Regions from separate parts of the Homo sapiens genome. Here all the other regions are linked to region 2. Evidence: promoter capture Hi-C in 16 types of primary human blood cells and fetal thymus (Javierre and others, 2016). All regions are on one chromosome and are shown on one strand. Each heading gives the region's core, a stretch centred on a gene start or on the middle of the fragment in contact. The rest is flanking DNA. Distances are from core to core; before and after follow the strand shown. Region 1 holds the start of AZGP1 (alpha-2-glycoprotein 1, zinc-binding). Region 2 holds the start of ZSCAN25 (zinc finger and SCAN domain containing 25). Region 3 holds the start of ZNF3 (zinc finger protein 3). Region 4 overlaps TRIM4 (tripartite motif containing 4). Region 5 holds the start of ARPC1A (actin related protein 2/3 complex subunit 1A). Region 6 has its middle 14 kb from the start of GJC3.

Region 1 (2,904 bases), core at 202-2,701, 360 kb before region 2:
TTTTCATAGTTGAGGATGTTCTGGGGTAACAAAGGGATGAATCATTTTTGGTCTAGGAGGAGTAATGCCTGCATCCATCCATTTAAATAGGTAAGGGGACACCCATTGTCTCAGCCTGTATGACTGCCATCCATCCTCTACATAATCTAACAAATAATTAAACTCTGAGCATGAGGTATTTTTGCTGGAGCAATCTTGCCAATAATGCCCTTTTGGAGCCCAATCAATAACAATACCTGCGGCTAGACTTTGGAGCACAACGGCCTTAGGAGCATTACAATTATTCCATAAAATTGAAGTCACTATAAAAGGTCCCTTTGTAGGTTTCTTTAACCAAAAGAGAGGCTGGGCACAGTTGCTCACACTAGTAAACCCAGCACTTTGGGAGACCGAGGCGGGCAGATCACGAGGTCAGGAGTTCAAAACCAGCTTGGCCAACATGGTGAAACCCCTGCCTCAGCTTCCTGAGTGCTGGGATTATAGGCATGTGCCACCACGCGCAGCTAATTCTTGTATTTTTTCAGTAGAGACGAGGTTTCATCATGTTGCCCAGGCTGGTCTCGAGTACCTGACCTCAACCTGAGGTGATCCAACCACCTCAGCCTCCCAAAGTGCTGGGATTACAAGCATGAGTCACCGCACCCGGGCCCCAGTCACTTTAGAATAGCATGTTGCTTTGTATTCGGAGGGTCTCTCTGCAAATAGCCCATCAACACTGAGCGTGCCTGGAAAGACCTGGTTTTCAAATAACTGGCTTCGTCTGTGTAAAACGAGTCTTGTTGTATGCATTAAAAATTATCTTGGCTGGGCGTGGTGGCTCACGCCTTTAATCCCAGCATTTTGGGAGGCTCGTTCTGTTGCCAGGGAGGCTGCAAAAGGAGGATGCGGCTATTTCTGCTTCCATCATGGAAGGCTGGGATTCCACAGGCACAGAAAGGAAGGAGGGAGAGATGGGAATGTGACTGTCCTCCAGACACAGCCTCTGGCAGGATCGGATGTGGGAGAGTGAGGGTCCCACCCCAGCTGGGGTCTACCCAGGTCCATGTCTTGGACATGTTGAGAGTTTTTCTGGAAGGCAGGGATACAGTGTGGTCCAAAAACACACAAATGCCCCTACTGGCCCAGGGGTTGTCACAATAGACTGGAAGGGTGACACATCCCAGGCGCTTGCCACCCATCACACGCACCTCCTACCCACTGGCATCCTTCCACCCCAGGCACACACAAAGCCTCAGTCCAGAGATCAACTCTGGACTCAGCTCTGAATTTGCATATCCTGTGTGTAGATTCATTCTTCATAACCTCTGCCCAGCCTAGCTTGTGTATCATTTTTTTTTCTCTATTAGGGGAGGAGCCCGTCCTGGCACTCCCATTGGCCTGTAGATTCACCTCCCCTGGGCAGGGCCCCAGGACCCAGGATAATATCTGTGCCTCCTGCCCAGAACCCTCCAAGCAGACACAATGGTAAGAATGGTGCCTGTCCTGCTGTCTCTGCTGCTGCTTCTGGGTCCTGCTGTCCCCCAGGAGAACCAAGATGGTGAGTGGGGAAAGCAAGGGATGGGTGCTGGAGAGGACTGGAAGGAGGTGAGGAACAGGACATGTGGCTGGGAGACAGGCTGGATGCAGCTGGGATACCCTGGCATACGGCAGGAATGGGTGCCCAAGGCTGTCAACTCCCTCAGCTCACACACTTCCAGGAGCATTCAGGGAGCCTCTGCGCTGGCCCGAAATAAGACCTTCAGGAATCTGAATCTAAAACCCCTAGTTTACAGTGAAAACAAAGACTCCAAAGACCAAGCGACCTGCTTGGGGTAGACAGTCAGGACGGAGTAGGAACCATATGCCTGGAGCTGCTTCTGCTCCTGTTCCTTCCCTCCTTCCGATGGCTGGGTACACCTGCCTGACGCTGAGGGAAAGAGAGAGCAGCCCCAAGGGGAAAGTGGGAAGGCAGGTTGGCTGGAGGGATGGTGCTAGAAGGAAACCCGTGCCCAAATCCCACACTCAGACACCACTGCAGTGGGTCTGGAAGGCGAGTGGCTGGAAGAGAAGAGAGTGGGAGCTCCGGGAGATCAAGAGTCACTCCTAGGATAAGGGAAGGAGGCTGTTTGTGGCATGAGAATGTGCAGGATAAAGACATGGAAGCGAATGGCTTCTCAGTTGTGTGAGTTTAAAATTCATGACATTTACAAATTGTCAGAAAAGGTGTTATATGTTTGTTATATAACAATCACTTTGGAATGTTAATCTGATTCTGTGCCAAAATCTGAATTACTCAGGGTTCTCCAGAGAAACAGAACTAATAGGTGGTACACATATACATATATATGTACGTACACATACATACATACACTGTATACACATGGATACACACACACATAGGAAGAGATTTACATATATGTATACAAAAGAGAGAGAGAGTAGAGATTTATTTTAAGAAATTGACTCACACTATTGGGAGGAGTAACAAGTCCTAAATCTTCAGAGCCGGCCAGCAGGCTGGAGACCCAGGGAAGAGTTGATGTCTTAGTCTTGATTCCAAGGGCAGACTGTAGGCAGAATTCTTTCCTCTTTAGGGGACATCTGAGGCTTTTTCTCTTAAGGCCTTCAACTGATTGGATGAAGCCCACCACTATGGAGAGTAATCCACTTTACTCAAGGTCTACTGATTTTTTTGTAAATTAAAAAAAAAACTGTGGGTGCATAGTATGTGTATATATTTATGGGGTACATGAGAGGTTTTGATTCAGGCATGCAATGTGAAATAATCACATCATCAAAAATGAGGTATCCATCCCTTCAAGCTTTTATCGTTTGTGTTACAGACAATCCAATTATACTTTTTTGGTTATTTTAGTTTTTAAAAGTATTTGATTATTTATTTATTTATTTATTTTTGAGACAGAG
Region 2 (2,859 bases), core at 302-2,801:
ACCATTATGACAAATGACCTAAAGATTTCTAACTTGTACAGGCTTTACTCTTTAGAAAGCATGTGAACACATATTTCATCTAATACTTAAAACACTTCTGTAGGATGAGTGCTACTCCTCCTACTTCTCAGAAGAAAAAAAAGAGACTAGATGATAACTGCCTCCCAAAATACATGGTACAGATTGAAAAAAAAATGTGAAGTCAAAAAGAGAGAAAACTAATCTAAGTCCAAGTACTCAAGGAAAAGAAGAGGCTTGAAGTAGACTGGAGAATGAGTCCTATTTACCTCCAAGTGGATTATGCGGAAGACCTAGACTGGGAAGACAGACTTGGAAGTCCAAAGCACCAGGGGAAGGAGATCCTGCTTGTCAGAAAACGGAAAGATCACCTGACTGGAGCAGAGAATGGGCAGCTGGCAGGAGGCACACCCCAAAGCTTCTGCTAAATATTCTATTGTGAGTTTGTGTATTTATCTACCCCCACTTAAACCAAGTTTATATTTTCAGTCTATTCATTGACTCTGCAACATTGAGATTTCTCTTTCATTCCTTTCTAGCTATTGCATTGGTTCACTCCACTAGTGCATTTAATGCACTACAGTGCAAATGTTTACCCATGTGTCTCCCTCTAACAGATTCCCTGGAGGCAAGAAAGATCCTCATTCATCTTTTATCTCTGCCATTTGACAAATAGAAATTGCCCCATTGCTATTCTTTATCTCCCCCCACCCATTGTGACTCTTTTGTTTTGTTTCTGAGACAGGATCTCAGGGTTTTATCACCCCAGCTGGAGACCAGTGGTGCGATCACTGCAGCCTTTGCCTCCTAGGATCAAGCGATCCTCCCACCTCAGCCTCCCGAGTAGCTGGGACTACTGGCGAGTGCCACCATGACCAGCTAATTATTTATTTTTGTAGAGACAGGGTCTCCCCATGTTGCCCAGGCTGGAGTGCAGCGGCATGAATGTAAGTCAGTGCAACCTTGAACTCCTGGGCTCAGGCGATCCTCCTGCCTCAGCCTCCCGAGTAGCTGGGACCTCAGGCGCGTGCCACCACGCCCGGCTACTTTTCAATTTTTGTAGAGACAGGGTCTCGCTATGTTGACCAGGCTGGCTCATCACTATTCTTTAAATAAGTGTCCTATGTGATTACTTTCACTTTGCACAGAGTTCTGCTTTGGTTCAAGATCTCTTCGGGTTCGTGGCCAGCCCTGCACTAAGCCAAGCCTGGCAGAGCGGGATCAGCCTCGCTCCTACCTGAGCCTACAGCGCGGCGGCCCCTCAGCGTCCAGACCCGCAGGGCCTCGGGGCCGCTGAAGGCAGCTCCTGAGAGACTTGCCGCCCTCAGCCGGGGCTGAGCGGAGGGAGACGGGCTCTACTGCAACCCCGCTGCCGCCGAGCCCCGTAGCGGCACCAAAACCCGTCCCCGCGCCCGTTTACCACTTCGCCCGCCACCCGCTGCGGCCCTGAAGAGGCTCTCACCCGCCGCGGCCCTGAAGGGCCTCTCACCCGCTAGGGTCGCCAGTGCTATCCGCGGTCCGGAAGTGAGCTGCGGACGCTGTTAGACAGGTGCGTAAGGAAAGACTCGCTTCCGTGTCCTCTCTAGGATGCTCGGAGGTCTCGGCGGATGCGTCTCGATGGTTGCTGATCCCAGCCTGCTGTTCCGAACCCGGCGAGGCGAAGACCACCAGGGCTTCCCCAGGATTGACTGCCCAGCTCGAGGCGCTCTGTGGCTAGGCCCCTTCCACTTCCGTGCCATTTCACCTGCTTGCCCTCCGTGGAAAGGACTCGGTGCATCGCCAGATACACTACTGGACACAGCACCTGCCCCAAGGGGCTTTAGAGTCCAGTCGGTCAATGCGCGACTATTCCGGCTGCGAGGGCCTTGCGCGAGGCGTAGGGGCAGAGGAGATAGGGGGCGCACTGGATCTAACCGGCTCACTTAAGAGGCTCCTGACCCCGGGTAGTGTGCGTGCGTGTGTGTATGTGTAGTCAGGGAAGGCTTCCTGGAGGAGCCAGCATCGGAGCTGTTTTTTGTGGGGGGTTTTTGTTTGTTTGTTTGTTTGTGTTTTTTGAGAAAGAGAGAGAGAAGTCTTGTTCTGTCTCCCAGGATGGAGTGCAGTGGTGAGATCATAGCTCACTGCAACCTCGAAGCCCTGAGTTCAAGCAATCCTCCCACCTCAGTCTCCTGGGTAGCTGGGACTTTTTTTCAATTTTTTGCAGAGAGGGGGATCTCTCTATGTTGCCCAATCTGGTCTCCAACTTCTGGACTCAAGCGATCTTCCCCCCTTGGCCTCCCAAAGTGCTAGGACTGCAGGCGCAAGCCACCGCGTCCAGCCTGAAGGCAGTCTGTCTCAACTGGGTGGCCCAGTGTTACTCCAGAATCCACTCAGGAAACAGGAAACCCTCTTGTCTTACTCTTCTCCAGCACTTTGCAAAGTGTCTGGTACAATATTTGCTAAAAATATACACTTATAGAGTAAATGAACTCCTAGAATATAACATAGGTGTTAGACCATCTCACTTTATCCTCCATGTCTCTGTCCCACTTTCATATTTTTCTTGTCTGCCCATATTTGACTTGGGTTTATGTCTTCACCTTTTTATTAATAATCCACTTTTCAGCTGTTTCTAATGTGCTACAAAATCCACAGTTGTTGTTTTTTTGTTTTGTTTTGTTTTGTTTTTTAAGAGACGAGGTCTTGCTGTGTCACCTAGGCTGGAGTACAGCGGTGCTATCATAGCTCACTACAGCTTCCAACTCCTGGGTTCAAGCAATCCACCTCAGCTTCCCAAATAGCTGGGACTACAGGCATGAGCCACCACACCCAGCTAATCTTTAAAAAATGTTTTGTAAGGAC
Region 3 (3,109 bases), core at 1-2,500, 460 kb before region 2:
GTTCGGAGGCAAGTTTTAAATCAGGGTTCATTTTTTAATATTGATGAATCCTTCAATAATTGTATGTTTACTGCTGCCCTTCGCGAGCCAGCCTGAGAAGCGCGGGCTCGACATCCCCGCGCGCCCCCGCCGCCCGCCCCCAAGGCCGGCGACGCTGGAGCACATGTCCTGAGGCCCAGGACCGTGGTCGGCCGCTTTCGCACATTCGTGGCCAGCAGAGGGCGCAGCCGGCCAGCCCCCGCAGCGAAAGATCCCCGAGTGCCGCGTCAGCGATCGCGCTCCTTGCCCTCGCCGCCTGCCAGCCGCCCTGAGTCAGCAAACCACAGAGAGGCGAGGACCTCCCATTTTCCTAGACAGAACAAGTGGGCGTTGGGGGTACGGGTGAGTGGCAAGAACAACCGACCCGGAAGCGAAACGAGGGGGAACTTCCGTTCTTTGTTCTGTCCCCGGTGTGTGGGTCTGTGACAGGGTCCAACAGGGCCTGGTCCGTGTCCGGTCCCCCAAATCTGTCGTCCCTGCCCCCAGGGTGAGTCCACGCGTCCCCGGGTCTCGCGGTGAGACGGAGGCTGTGGTCGCCGGGGAAGGGGGTGGTGTCTGTGCCACTGCGGCCCGCAGGGTCCCCCGGCCGGCCCGGAGCAGGGTTCGGGGAGGCGCCCCTCCGTCCCCTGCAGCCCGTCCTCTACTCCGCTTCCCCAGGGATCCCCCTAGCCTAGCGGGATCCTGCGTAGGGGTTAGTAATGGGGCTCCGGTTCTGGTTTTGTGACTTTAACGGCGACCCAGCTGGAGCGTTTAAAAGTTTCAGCAGAGCGGTAGGGGCGCCTCTCTCTTGAAAGCAGCTAATGACAGCGACCCTAACTTGGTATTTCTCCCAGACGTTTTTATTTGATGTTAACACAGTTATTCGCGCCCGTGGCAGGAGAGGAAGTTTATTTTTACGCAGCTGGGTCCAAGGATCAGAGAAATTCTGCTAAGCGTACGCAGTTAGCACGAGGGCTGGGAGTGGGTGCAGACGCCGATTCCAGGGGTAATCCTGCTGGAGCCCAGTGCATCGCGTGATACACCTGGCTCAGGCTCCGTTTTCAGTTGTATTAGATTCCTGGTTTGATCCTCTCTCCGGAAGTGGGATTGAATCCACATCGGTGTTTACACTCTGAAGGGCTTTTGTAAACTCCAGGAGAAGATAGCAGAGTGATGAACCTGAAACCGATGGGCTAATTAGAGGAACGAGCGTATTATTTTCTCCAGAAAAGACATCTGTGGAGAGTGGGCATCATTTGATTATACGTGTTTGATGGACAGTCGGGTGGAAGGAGAAGATTCTGTTATTGAAGCTCTTTTTTTAAAAAAATTAATTTTTATTTATTTTTGAGACTGTCTCTGGAGTGCAGTGGCGCGATCTCGGCTCACTGCAACCTCCGCCTCCCGGTTCAAGCGCTTCTCCTGCTTCAGCCTCCCGAGTGGTTGGGACTACAGGCGCCCGCCACCACCTCCGGCGAATTTTTTGTATTTTTAGTAGAGACGGGGTTCCGCCCTTTTGGCCAGGCTGGTCTGCAACTCCTGGCCTCAAGTGATCCACCTGCCTTGGCCTCCCAAAGTGTTGGGATTACAGGCGTTAGCCACCGCGCCCGGCCTTTTTTTTTTTTTTCCTTTTAAAATGTTTGTGTGTGTATTAAGGTCTTGCTCTGTTGCCCCCGGCTGGAGTGCCGTGGTGCCATCATGGCTCACCATAGCCTGGAACTCCTGGGCTCAAGTAATCCTCCCACCTCAGCCTCCTAAAGTGCTGGGGTTACAGGCGTGAGCCACTGCAGGTCGCCAGTCATTGAATTTCTGTGATGCACTAGGTCTCTGTGCGGTGAAGGTCCAAGGAGATAGATTTTCAGCGAATCACCTGAAGACTTCTAATGGCTCAGCTGTGCAATGTGGATCCCCTGCTGAAGTAGTTCGGAGCACAGTGTCTAGCAAGTTAGCTGACAGAACGTTAGAACTTTCTTACCCTGGGTGGAGGTGGACCTGAGAACCTACCATTCCCTTTCATCTCTCCACGGGTGCAACGCAAATACTAGTTGTGGTGGTGGTCTTAATTGGTATTTATTAGCATATAATAAGTATTCTCTTTTTTTTCCTTTTCTTTAAATGTCTTGATTAGAAATGAAGTTTAGGCTGGACTCGGTGGCTCATGCCTGTAATCCCAGCACTTTGGGAGGCTGAGGTGGGAGAATCACTTGAGGCCAGGAGATTGAGACCAGCCTGAGCAACACAGTGAGGCTGCATTTCTACAAAAAGAATTTTAAAAAACTCAGCCAGATGTGGCAGTGCACACCTTTAGTCCCAGCTCCTTGGGAGGCTGAGCTGGGAGGATCACTTGAACTTAGGAGTTTGAGTCTGGAGTGAGCTCAAACTCACTGCACTCCAGCCTGAGCAGCAGAGTCAGACCCTGTCTCATGGAAAAAAAAAGACGTTTGCATGAATATTTTAAATTCCTTTTTTTCCCCTTAATCACACAGCATTGGCATCAACAAAAGTCAGAATTCCCGGGAACTTGAACAGAGGCTGCTAAATTCCCAGTAATTGCTCCTTTGGCCTTCTAGGGACTGACTTCAAAGAAGGAAGGAAAGAATCAGGCAGGTAAAGCTTTCCGTGTCTTGTTCTTACTGCCAGGCCATCTATCTCGGTCCCCACGGGCAGCACCAGGGAGTGAGGCTGGCAACAGAGCAGGGGAAGGGCCCTGTCTGGACCTGAAGCCATGGGGGCACAATGGAGAGTTTTCTTTCTGTGAGAAACGCTGTTTACTGATCTGGACACTGGGTGCTTGTTCTCAACAATATGCCTTTGAGTTCCAGCTTCACTTAACCCAGCTGTGAGAGGGAGCTGTTGCCTTTTTCTCTGGAGTCAGACCTTTGACCTGCCTTTCTAGGAGTTTGTACTGAAAGCTGACTTGTTGAGGGCGTCAGCTCATAAATAGCTCCGGAGATTGTAAAGGTGGTTGATAAGAGGATATGATGGTTGGCTCTGAGACACCATTGAAGGGACCCTGCTAGGAGGGCGATGGTGGCAAGAAGGTGTGTCACCTTGATTGCCAGTGGCCTGGCTTGTGCCTGAGTCAGTGCTT
Region 4 (2,820 bases), core at 52-2,551, 280 kb before region 2:
ATTATCTATGGTGATTGGCGTCCCTGAAAGAGAGGAGTGGGGAGGGAGATGGAATAGGAAAAATACTTGAAGACATAATGGCCAAAGATTTTCTGAATATAATAAAAACTAAGTCCACAGATCCAAGATGCTCAACAAACCCTGAGTATGAGAAATATGAAGAAAAATATGCCAAGGCTCATCATAACTTGCTGGAAACCAGTGTTAAAAAGAAAATCTTAAATGCAACCAGGGGAGAGGATAGTTACTTGCAGTGGAACAAAGACGAAGTTGACATTACACTTCTCATTGGAAACAATGCCAGTAAGCAAACTCTTTAAAGTCCTGAAAGAAAAAAACTGTTAACCTAGAGTTCTAGAACTGGCAAAAAATATCCTTCAAAAACAAAGGTGAAATAAATAAGTTTGGAGGTAAACTAAAGCTTAAAAGAAAGAGTTTACAGCAGACTGACACTTCAAGAAAGGAAGTCTTAAAGGAAGTCCTTCAGACAGAAGGAAAATGCCAGATGGAAATCTCTCTACACAAAGGAATAAAAGAGCACCAGAAATGGTAATGACACGAATAAATATATATTATTGTCATTATTTATTCCTTTAAAAAGGAATTGCGATGGTAAGTTTATACATCAACTTGACTGGGCCACAGAGTGCCCAGATATTGGTCAAAAATTATTTTGGGTGTTTTTTTGAGGGTGATTTTGGATAAGATTAACATTTAAGTCAGTAAGCCTGTGTAGACTGCCCTTCATAATGTGGGTGGGCCTCATCTAATCAGTTGAAGGCTTGAATAGAAAAAAAAGGCTTGACCTTTCTGATGGATTTCTAAAGCATACTACCTTGGCCTTCACTGCAGCATTGGCTCTTCCTGCCTAATGGCCTTCCAACTAGAACGCTGGCTCTATCTGGGTCTTGAGCCTGCCAACTCACACAGCAGATTCGGACTTGTCAGTAGCAATAATCACACAAGCCAGTTCCTTATATTAAATCTTATACACTGGCTGGGTGTGGTGGCTCACATCTGTAATCCCAATTCTTTGGGAGGCTGAGTTAGGAGGATTGCTTGAGGCCAGGAGTTTGAGGCCAGCCTGGGCAACATAGTGAGACCCTGTCTCTACAAAAAATAAAATAATTAGTGTGCTGGTGTGTGCCTGTAGTCCCAGTTACTTGGGAGGCCACGGCGGGAGGATGGCTTAAGCCCAGGAGGTTGAGGCCGCAGTGAGCTGTGATTGCACCACTGCACTCCAGCATGGGCAACAGCGAGACCCCATCTCAAAAGAAAACCCAGAAAACTCACAGGTGCATGCATGCACGTGTGCGCACACACACCCACCCACCATACACAGACACAGACATATATATCCTTTTGGTTCTGTTCCTTTGGAGAACCCTAATAATTGACTATTTCAACAGACAAAATATGGTGTATTTTGGAACTTATATTTAAAAGTAAAATCCATGACAGTAGTGTGAAGATTGGGAGAGGAGAGATGAAAGTATACTATGATACAGTTCTCATGTGTGAAGTGGTATAATATCACTTGAAGGGAGACTGATAAAAAGGTGTATACTTGTGCCAGTCCCCTACTGACTTCATTAAGGATGGCACCGTGTCTGAAAGGCCGAAGAGGAGATCTGGAGTAGTGAATGAGACATGGGGTTTATTGAAGACCTACATGCAGGGCAGTCCAGGAATGGCCAGCTGGACAGGAAAACAAACCACTGCTATTTGTAAAAAGCATGCAGGTTATATATAGCATTTTCATTTAGCAATCTCCACCTGGGACCTTCCATTTAACCCAAAAGAAAGGGCCTCGATTCCCTGTATTGCCTGCATTCCAAGGAATGGACCAGGAGTTCACATGGCCTTTATAGATGAGGAGTGCATTTCTGGGTTGGCCACTCCTGGATTCTTTAGCTCAGAACTCTGAATACACAGTCTTCTTAGACCATAGGGTTATTCTCAGGGTGTGCTGGAGTTACTGCTGTCAGGTGTGTCTGCCGTACACTGCAGTCCAGCATACCCTTGAATGGCCCCCACATTCTTATCACGTCATTCTCTGCAACTTCCCTGAGGCAAGGTATGTGCAGTAGCATTGCTGCCAGATGCTGCAGCAGCGTTAGAAACTACAGCAACAAAAGACAATGACAAGCATAGTAGCAATCATACTCTACAGAAAGCTTTTCCAAGCACTTGATAAGATAGAGAATTTTTACTGAAATATGGGTTTCTAGGGTTCACATAACCCCGGTTATAATGTGAGAGTAATAGGGATATATACACAACATTTGGTTTTAATTAATGTGCAGCTTCCACCCAGGGCAGCAGTTAAGATATCCAGGGCCATGCGATTTTACACAGTTGCCCAGTGAGAAGAGTAATGGCATGGCACAGGTATCCTTGAAGGCTGCAGCCATATGTTTAGCGAGGTCTCCAAATTGCAACTCCAGAATGCACACTTCTGGAAGTGCCTGGCTTTTATACTCTCCCAGTTAGTAAGAATGGTGTCTCAATGGGACAGAATGTGTCCGGCAGGTGAAGACGACCCCAGGTGCATCTACCAGCCCAATTTTAGGGTAAGTAAGGCCAGCTGTGGTTGCCGTCTACCTGTAGCCATCCCCAAGGGGAGGGCATGGGCCCCTACGTGGAGACAGTTACTGTGCCACCCTAGCCACATATTATTGGCTATTTGAAGGGATTGGTTGCATTGCTGTGGGGGTAGCCACCCCACATTAAGAGTTTAGCTTGTGACATGCTATTATCATGCCTTTCAGTACATAAGGGTGCATGACTTACTACCTGTATCTGCACTCTTGTTACTCA
Region 5 (3,064 bases), core at 503-3,002, 290 kb after region 2:
ATACTTTGTGGGAGAAAATAGCCATATAAGCTGGGTGTGGTGTCTCACACCCAAAATCCCAGCACTTTGGGAGGTCGAGGTGGGAGGATAGCTTGAGCTTAGGAGCTCCAGACCAGCTTGGGCCACATATGGAGACCCTGTCTTTACAAAAAATACAAAAAAAAAAAAAAAATTAGCCAGGCGCAGTGGCTCATGCCTGTAGTCACAGCTACTCGGGAGGCTGAGGCAGGAGAATCGCTTGAACCCAGGAGGTGGAGGTTGCAGTGAGCCAAGATCACACCACTGCACTCCAGTCTGGGTGACAGAGTGAGACTCTATCTCCAAAAATAAGTAAATAAAAATAAATGAAAATTAGCCCAGTGTGGTGGCACACGCCTGTAGTCCCAGCTACTCAGGAGGCTGAGGTGGGAGGATCTGTTAAGCCCAGGAGGTCGAGGCTGCAGGAAAAAAAAAAAAAAGGAAGACAACAACCACAGTTACCCACTCCCTAACAGGACAAAAACACCTTCCTGACTGATGCCCCTCCTCTGTTTTTAGATACCTGAAAACCCAGGCCCTATGTGAAACCACAAGACTAGATAAAATTGAGGAGAGAGGGCAGAACTAAGATAATCTCGGCAATTTAAGCTACGAGTTGACATAGACAGAAGGTTCCAAAGCTGCAGGAGAACAGATGGCTTTATAATCAAAGATTCTAAGCTATAACTGATTAAGTGCCTATCATGTTCCCAGCAGTGTTGTAAATACCGGGATGGGGCTAGAAACATAAATAAGGCTGACACCATTCTGGTCTTCAAGTCTGGAGGGTTGGTGTTTGGGGAGAGTGGAGGAGATAGAAAAGGAAAGGAAGACGGATATGCATAGAATGCCCAGAAGCAGTAATAATAGCTAATATTTATTGATCACCTACTCTCGGCCAGGAACTATTCTAAGCAATTTATGCAAATAAGCTCACTTGATTCTTAGCAAAACGGTAAGAATCTTTTTATTGCAGATGAGGAAACAGGCGCAGAGAAGCATCTTCCCAGGATCACTCAACAAAGTGGTGGTGCCAGGACTGGCATAAAAGATTCCACTAAATGAATAAGAGCGCCGAGAAGGGTGCAATTTTGACTTGGGGGAAGGCGGTACTCATGCAGGGAAATCTTAAAAGAACTCGGGAGAAGGTTTTTCTCGAGATCGAGAAGGTTCCCCATTAACCGAAGGATTGAGGGCTGCCCTAGAGAGCAGGCAAACATCCTATGGGCGCCTACTGTATGCAGGGATCGACTCTAGACACTAAAGAGATGAATAGTCCCGCGGGTCGCTCGATTACGGGAGATCCTCCTACTTGACACAATTTTAGAGACGGTGACAAATGCCCCCAGCAGAGGTGCAAGTAGGACCCTGGGGGCGCAGAAGGGGCCGTTAATTCGGGCATCGGAGGCGGCTAGGAGCTCGAACATCCTGAGAAAAGCTGCAGGGGATCCACGGAGAAAGGGGATCCCCGCCCCCTCAGGAGGCCCCGGCAGGGAGACCCGGCCGCGCCTCAGCCTCGGGGCCCCGCGGCCTGAGCCCCCGTCTCACTGCCCCCGCGGCAAGTCCGGCGCCAGGCCTGGACAAGAGAGGCCGACAGGGTGAGACGCTCGCCCCTGCTGGCCGTTACCTGGGATCGGGGGAGTCCGGACGGGCTCGGAGCGGAGGATTCGCGGACTCTGGGCAGTCGACGCGAACAGGCTCCGTCGGGCGCGGGCGGAGGACGGAAGCCCAGAGGGAGCGGCTGACAGATCCCGGAAGTGGACACGGCGCCTGCGCGTTGCGACCGCGCGGACGGTCCGCGCATGCGCACAGCTCGGGCGCGCAGTCCGGGGTTAGGCAGGCTGCAGTGGAGGAGGGTACGCCGTTCCATTGGCGTGGTACTGTCGGCGGCCCTTCAGAGGAGATGCTGCCCCACGGAACGCCTGGCAAGTGCTGGCGAAGCGGCATGGGCGTCCCACTCCGTTCCTCAACCAATTTCCTCACAATCGCGAGCCGAAGTGTGGCGCTTTGGCAGTTTCGCAAGGTCTTTTGTCAGGAGATGAGTTACTGAGGATTGGGGGTCTTTGGAGCTCTTGGACCTGAAGAACGATTAAGTTTTTCTCCCTTCAGAGAGCCAAGGTCAGAGCCAGTCTACCTCAGCGCTGCTCCCTGCAGGGAGCCTCCGCCCCCGCCGTGCTCCCTCTGTGGAAAGCCCCTGAAGCCCCCCAGGAACTTTCTCGACCCTTCCTGGGACAGAATCCCCTGCTCCCAAGCAGTTCCCTGCTCCCAAGATGGCGCAGCAGGGATAAAAGGGTTGGGGGAACTTGGCAAGGCCCCCAATTCACAGAGGACAGAGCCTGCCCCGCAGATGCAGCCTCCAAGAAATGCCCTGATCCCCACCTGCAATCAGGCTGCTGCCCTTGAACCCTAGAAATTCTGGAGCATCCCCAGCCCCCACAGATGGGGCTAATCGAGAGCTTTTCTTTTTTCTTTTTTTTTAGACAGGTTCTCAACCTGTAGCCCAGGCTGGAGTGCAGTGGCGCGATCATAGCTAACTGCAGCCTGGAACCCCTGGGCTCAAGCGATCCTCCCGCCTCAGCCCCCCGTGGAGCTGGGACTACAAGTGCACACCACCACGCCTGGCTAATTTTTATTTTTTGGTAGAGACAGGGTCTTGCTGTGTTGCTTAGGCTGGTCTTGAACTCCTGGGCTCAAGCGATCGTCCCTCTTTGGCCTCTCAAAGCCCTCAGATTACAGGTGTGAGCCACTGTGCCTGGCTAATTTTTATATTTTTTGTAAAGATGAGGTTTTCCTATGTTGTCCAGGCTGGTCTTGAACCCCTGGGCTCAAGCAATCCTCTAGCCTCTGCTTCCCAAAGCGATGTGAGCTCCCCCCCGCCGCCGCCCAGCGCCATGCCAGGCCAACCAAGGGCTTGTCTCCTTCCCTTTGGTATTGTAAGGTGAGGTTTATGTAGGTATACTTGTCAAACTCTCAATTTCAGACCCGCTGTGATCTTTTTGAGACGGAGCCTTTCTCTGTCGCCCAAGCTGGAGTGCAGTGGCGCGAT
Region 6 (2,879 bases), core at 197-2,696, 330 kb before region 2:
ACCTGGGAGCGGAGCTTGCAGTGAGCTGAGATCACGCCACTGGACTCCAGCCTGGGTGACAGAGCTAGACTCCGTCTCAAAACAAACAAACAAACAAAAAAAAACCACACAAAAAAACAAAAAAAATTAGCCAAGCATGGTGGTGTACACCTGTTGTCCCAGCTACTCAGGAGGCTGAGGTGGGAGGATCACTTGAGCCTGGAGGTTGAGGTTGCAGTGACCTAAGATCGTGCTACTGCACTCCAGCCTGGATGATAAAGTGAGACCCTGTTTCACAAAGAAAAAGAAAAAGAGTTAAAAAAATCCAGGCATGAACAGGAAGGGATGAGCATGGAATAAAACCAGGATGCTGCCTCCGTACCACCAGTTCTTTGATTTCAACTTGTTGCTCAGTTGAATCATTGCCATACTGGTGAGAAAGAAATGTATTTGCTGACTGTTGGTCAATATTACAGATTTAAAACCTGTGCACTCTTAAGACCTCACCAGTTTATAGTTTTGTTTCTTCCAGATTTCTGCGGAAAGATGGGCCCAAGGCTGGCTTTGCTCCCTTTTCTCTAGGTCACACAGTATCCTAGGCCCTGTGCTGTTATATTTGACTCTGTGGAAGATGCTTTGTTTTCAGTTCTGAGCCTTTTCTTCTGCTGATTCCTTCTCAACCTTTGTTCCTTGTGTCGCTCACCCTCCCCCAAACCAGGTAGATGCACCCAGGTGTGGAAAAGAGGGAGGGAGAAGAAAGATCCCTTCTGTCATTGATACAGGAGCTAGAAAAAAATTATTTAGGCAGATAGTGAGGGTAAGAGAGTCCGTGGTAAGATTTCCCTTTAATGAAAAGCAGCCCCCAAATAATTTCTTTTCTAACAATAAGCAGCCTGAAAAATTAAGCTGCAAGCATAGATAAGCAAGCTAAAAGCTTGCATAGGTAAATGCCAACAGCTGTGCCAATAGAAAAGGGACACCTGGAAGCCAGGTATATTCAACATGGAGGTGCCCTCTTCCCTTTCCTTTGTCAACACGCTTGCAGTAAAAAAGCAGGCAACGTGGTGATGGCCAAGTAGAGACCCCATCTGCATAATAAAAGGTTAAGGTGAGATGGCCAACTTGTTGGTGCGCTATGCAAATGGCACACCTGGTCTGACTAATCTCTCGGGCCCTATGTAAATCAGACACTGCCTCCTCAAGCTTGTCTATAAAACCCCCCCCCCGTGCATTTCACCACAAAACCGGAAGACCCACTCGGAAGTCCCTCTCTCTCTGCAGGAGAGAGAGCTTTTCTTTTTTCTCTTTCTTTTGCCTATTAAACCTCCAATCTTAAACTCCTCCTTGTGCGTCTCCACCTTCTTGATTTCCTTGGCGTGAGGCAATGAATCTTGGGTATTACTCCAGACAAATGACGCCACTTCATCATCGTTCTTGGGGCACAGAGGTGCTGAGCTTCCACATTTCTCTTCGCTCCCTACTCTTGGGTGAGCCCTTCACCCTGGGTACCCTGTTGCCCCAGGCCTTGGCACGTGTTGTCAACGTATGGCTGTGGGAGGAGGCTGGTCTTGTCTGGTGGGAAGGAGAGAGACAAAGAGGGCATTGTTGATAGAAGAAGTGGAATGAGAGCTCCCTTTACCCTTGGGGGCTTCTTTTCTGGCATTAATCCTCAGAAAATAATTGTGAAAGAGAAGTTTGTCTTTGTGCTTTAGGGTGCTGTCAGAAGCTTAGAAATAATTAGGCAGAATCCCCATCCCCCCAATCCCCATCACCAACTTTAGTCTCCTCCCCCGATACCCACACTGACCCAGGGTTAGGGACATTTATAAATGGAGCCATTGAGGACTCAGGAGAAACTCATGCAACTGAAAAATGTCCCCTATTTCCTGGGTCCTAGGCAGCTCCCCACTTTCCACTCCCACTTCAGACATTTAGACAAGGACTTTGGTCACTCTGGCTAGACCATCTGTGTAACCCAGAATGGTGGGGTCACAACTCTTGGTTTCCAAGGATATAATCACATGTTGTGAGCAAAAATGTGCTGAACACACCTGACTCTGTGGCTTCTTCTTGAGAAGTGATTTTGCAGAGCGGGGAAGGGTCGACTCTGGAAACGTTTCATTTGTCTATTGGCCATTTGGATTTCTTCTGTGAAGTGCCTTTTCATGACTATCATCTATATTCTCTTAAGTTTGTCCTTGTTATTGATTTGTAGTTCTTTATATATCCCTGATAACAAGGCTTGCTTTTTCATGCTCTTTATATATATTTTTAAAAGCAGCTTTAGCAAAGTGTAACATACAAAAATCTGCACATAAAATGTAAAATGTGATGTTTTGACATATATATATATGCACTGAAACCATCCCTATTAATTCCATTGTGATCAAAGACATATATTGTATCACTTAAATCCTTTTACATGTATCCAGGCTTATTTTATGGTGTAGAACATGATCTATCTTGGTAGATGTTCTGTGTGCTCTTGACAAGAATGTATTGTTGCGTAGAATGTTCTATTGTCAATTTTGTTGATTAGGTCAATTTGGCTTATAGTATTGTTCAAGCCTTCTATTTGTTTACTGATTTTCTGTCTACTTGTCCTATCAATTTTTGAGAGATGGGTGTTGGCTCCTTAACTATTTTGTGAATTTGTCTATTTCTCCATGTATTTCTATTAATTTTTGCTGTACGTATTTTGAAGCTCTGTTATTACGTGTGTAAACATTTAGGATTTGATAAATGGACTCATTTGTAACAATCAAATATCTTCTTTATCTCTGGTAATATTTTTTGCTCTGAAATCTACTTTGATATTAATATAGTCACTGTAGGTTACTTTTGATTAGTGTCAGCATGGTATATTTTCCATTATTTTACTTTTAACCTTGTACCTTTAT

The links. The method cuts DNA at HindIII sites, captures the fragments that hold promoters and counts their contacts. A CHiCAGO score of 5 or more calls a contact.
Region 1: a contact is called between the fragment with the promoter of AZGP1 here and the fragment with the promoter of ZSCAN25 in region 2, in 14 of 17 cell types (M1 macrophages, erythroblasts, M0 macrophages and 11 more). The highest score is 17.4, in M1 macrophages.
Region 3: a fragment that was not itself captured here is called in contact with the fragment with the promoter of ZSCAN25 in region 2 in 7 of 17 cell types (erythroblasts, fetal thymus, naive CD8 T cells and 4 more); the score reaches 7.5 in erythroblasts.
Region 4: a fragment that was not itself captured here is called in contact with the fragment with the promoter of ZSCAN25 in region 2 in 5 of 17 cell types (erythroblasts, M1 macrophages, M0 macrophages and 2 more); the score reaches 10.7 in erythroblasts.
Region 5: the fragment with the promoter of ARPC1A here is called in contact with the fragment with the promoter of ZSCAN25 in region 2 in 1 of 17 cell types (neutrophils); the score reaches 5.3 in neutrophils.
Region 6: a fragment that was not itself captured here is called in contact with the fragment with the promoter of ZSCAN25 in region 2 in 1 of 17 cell types (M1 macrophages); the score reaches 5.1 in M1 macrophages.

The regions. Positions count from the first base shown.
Region 1 is chr7:99,974,578-99,977,481 of GRCh38, reverse strand. It overlaps AZGP1 (alpha-2-glycoprotein 1, zinc-binding), which reads left to right and starts at 1,451. Exons shown (of 4, transcript NM_001185.4): 1 at 1,451-1,537. The coding sequence starts at 1,462. The HindIII fragment of the contact is 13,516 bases long and covers 1-2,803 here.
Region 2 is chr7:99,615,638-99,618,496 of GRCh38, reverse strand. ZSCAN25 (zinc finger and SCAN domain containing 25) reads right to left here and starts at 1,551. Exons shown (of 8, transcript NM_145115.3): 1 at 1,481-1,551. RefSeq lists enhancers at 1,516-1,835, 1,426-2,405. The HindIII fragment of the contact is 2,601 bases long and covers 439-2,859 here.
Region 3 is chr7:100,079,052-100,082,160 of GRCh38, reverse strand. ZNF3 (zinc finger protein 3) reads left to right here and starts at 438. Exons shown (of 6, transcript NM_032924.5): 1 at 438-526; 2 at 2,505-2,625. RefSeq lists a silencer at 30-109 and enhancers at 1-193, 350-499. The HindIII fragment of the contact is 2,766 bases long and covers 1-2,633 here.
Region 4 is chr7:99,898,261-99,901,080 of GRCh38, reverse strand. All of the region lies in intron 5 of TRIM4 (tripartite motif containing 4), which reads left to right. Among named protein-coding and RNA genes, the nearest start is that of TRIM4, 20 kb to the left of the region's middle. The HindIII fragment of the contact is 1,756 bases long and covers 424-2,179 here.
Region 5 is chr7:99,324,586-99,327,649 of GRCh38, reverse strand. ARPC1A (actin related protein 2/3 complex subunit 1A) reads right to left here and starts at 1,752. Exons shown (of 10, transcript NM_006409.4): 1 at 1,646-1,752. LOC105375421 (a long non-coding RNA gene) reads left to right here and starts at 1,842. Exons shown (of 4, transcript XR_927798.3): 1 at 1,842-2,136. RefSeq lists a silencer at 1,472-1,651 and an enhancer at 1,627-2,186. The HindIII fragment of the contact is 5,893 bases long and covers 1-3,064 here.
Region 6 is chr7:99,942,647-99,945,525 of GRCh38, reverse strand. No RefSeq gene overlaps it. Among named protein-coding and RNA genes, the nearest start is that of GJC3, 14 kb to the right of the region's middle. RefSeq lists an enhancer at 713-1,568. The HindIII fragment of the contact is 523 bases long and covers 1,185-1,707 here.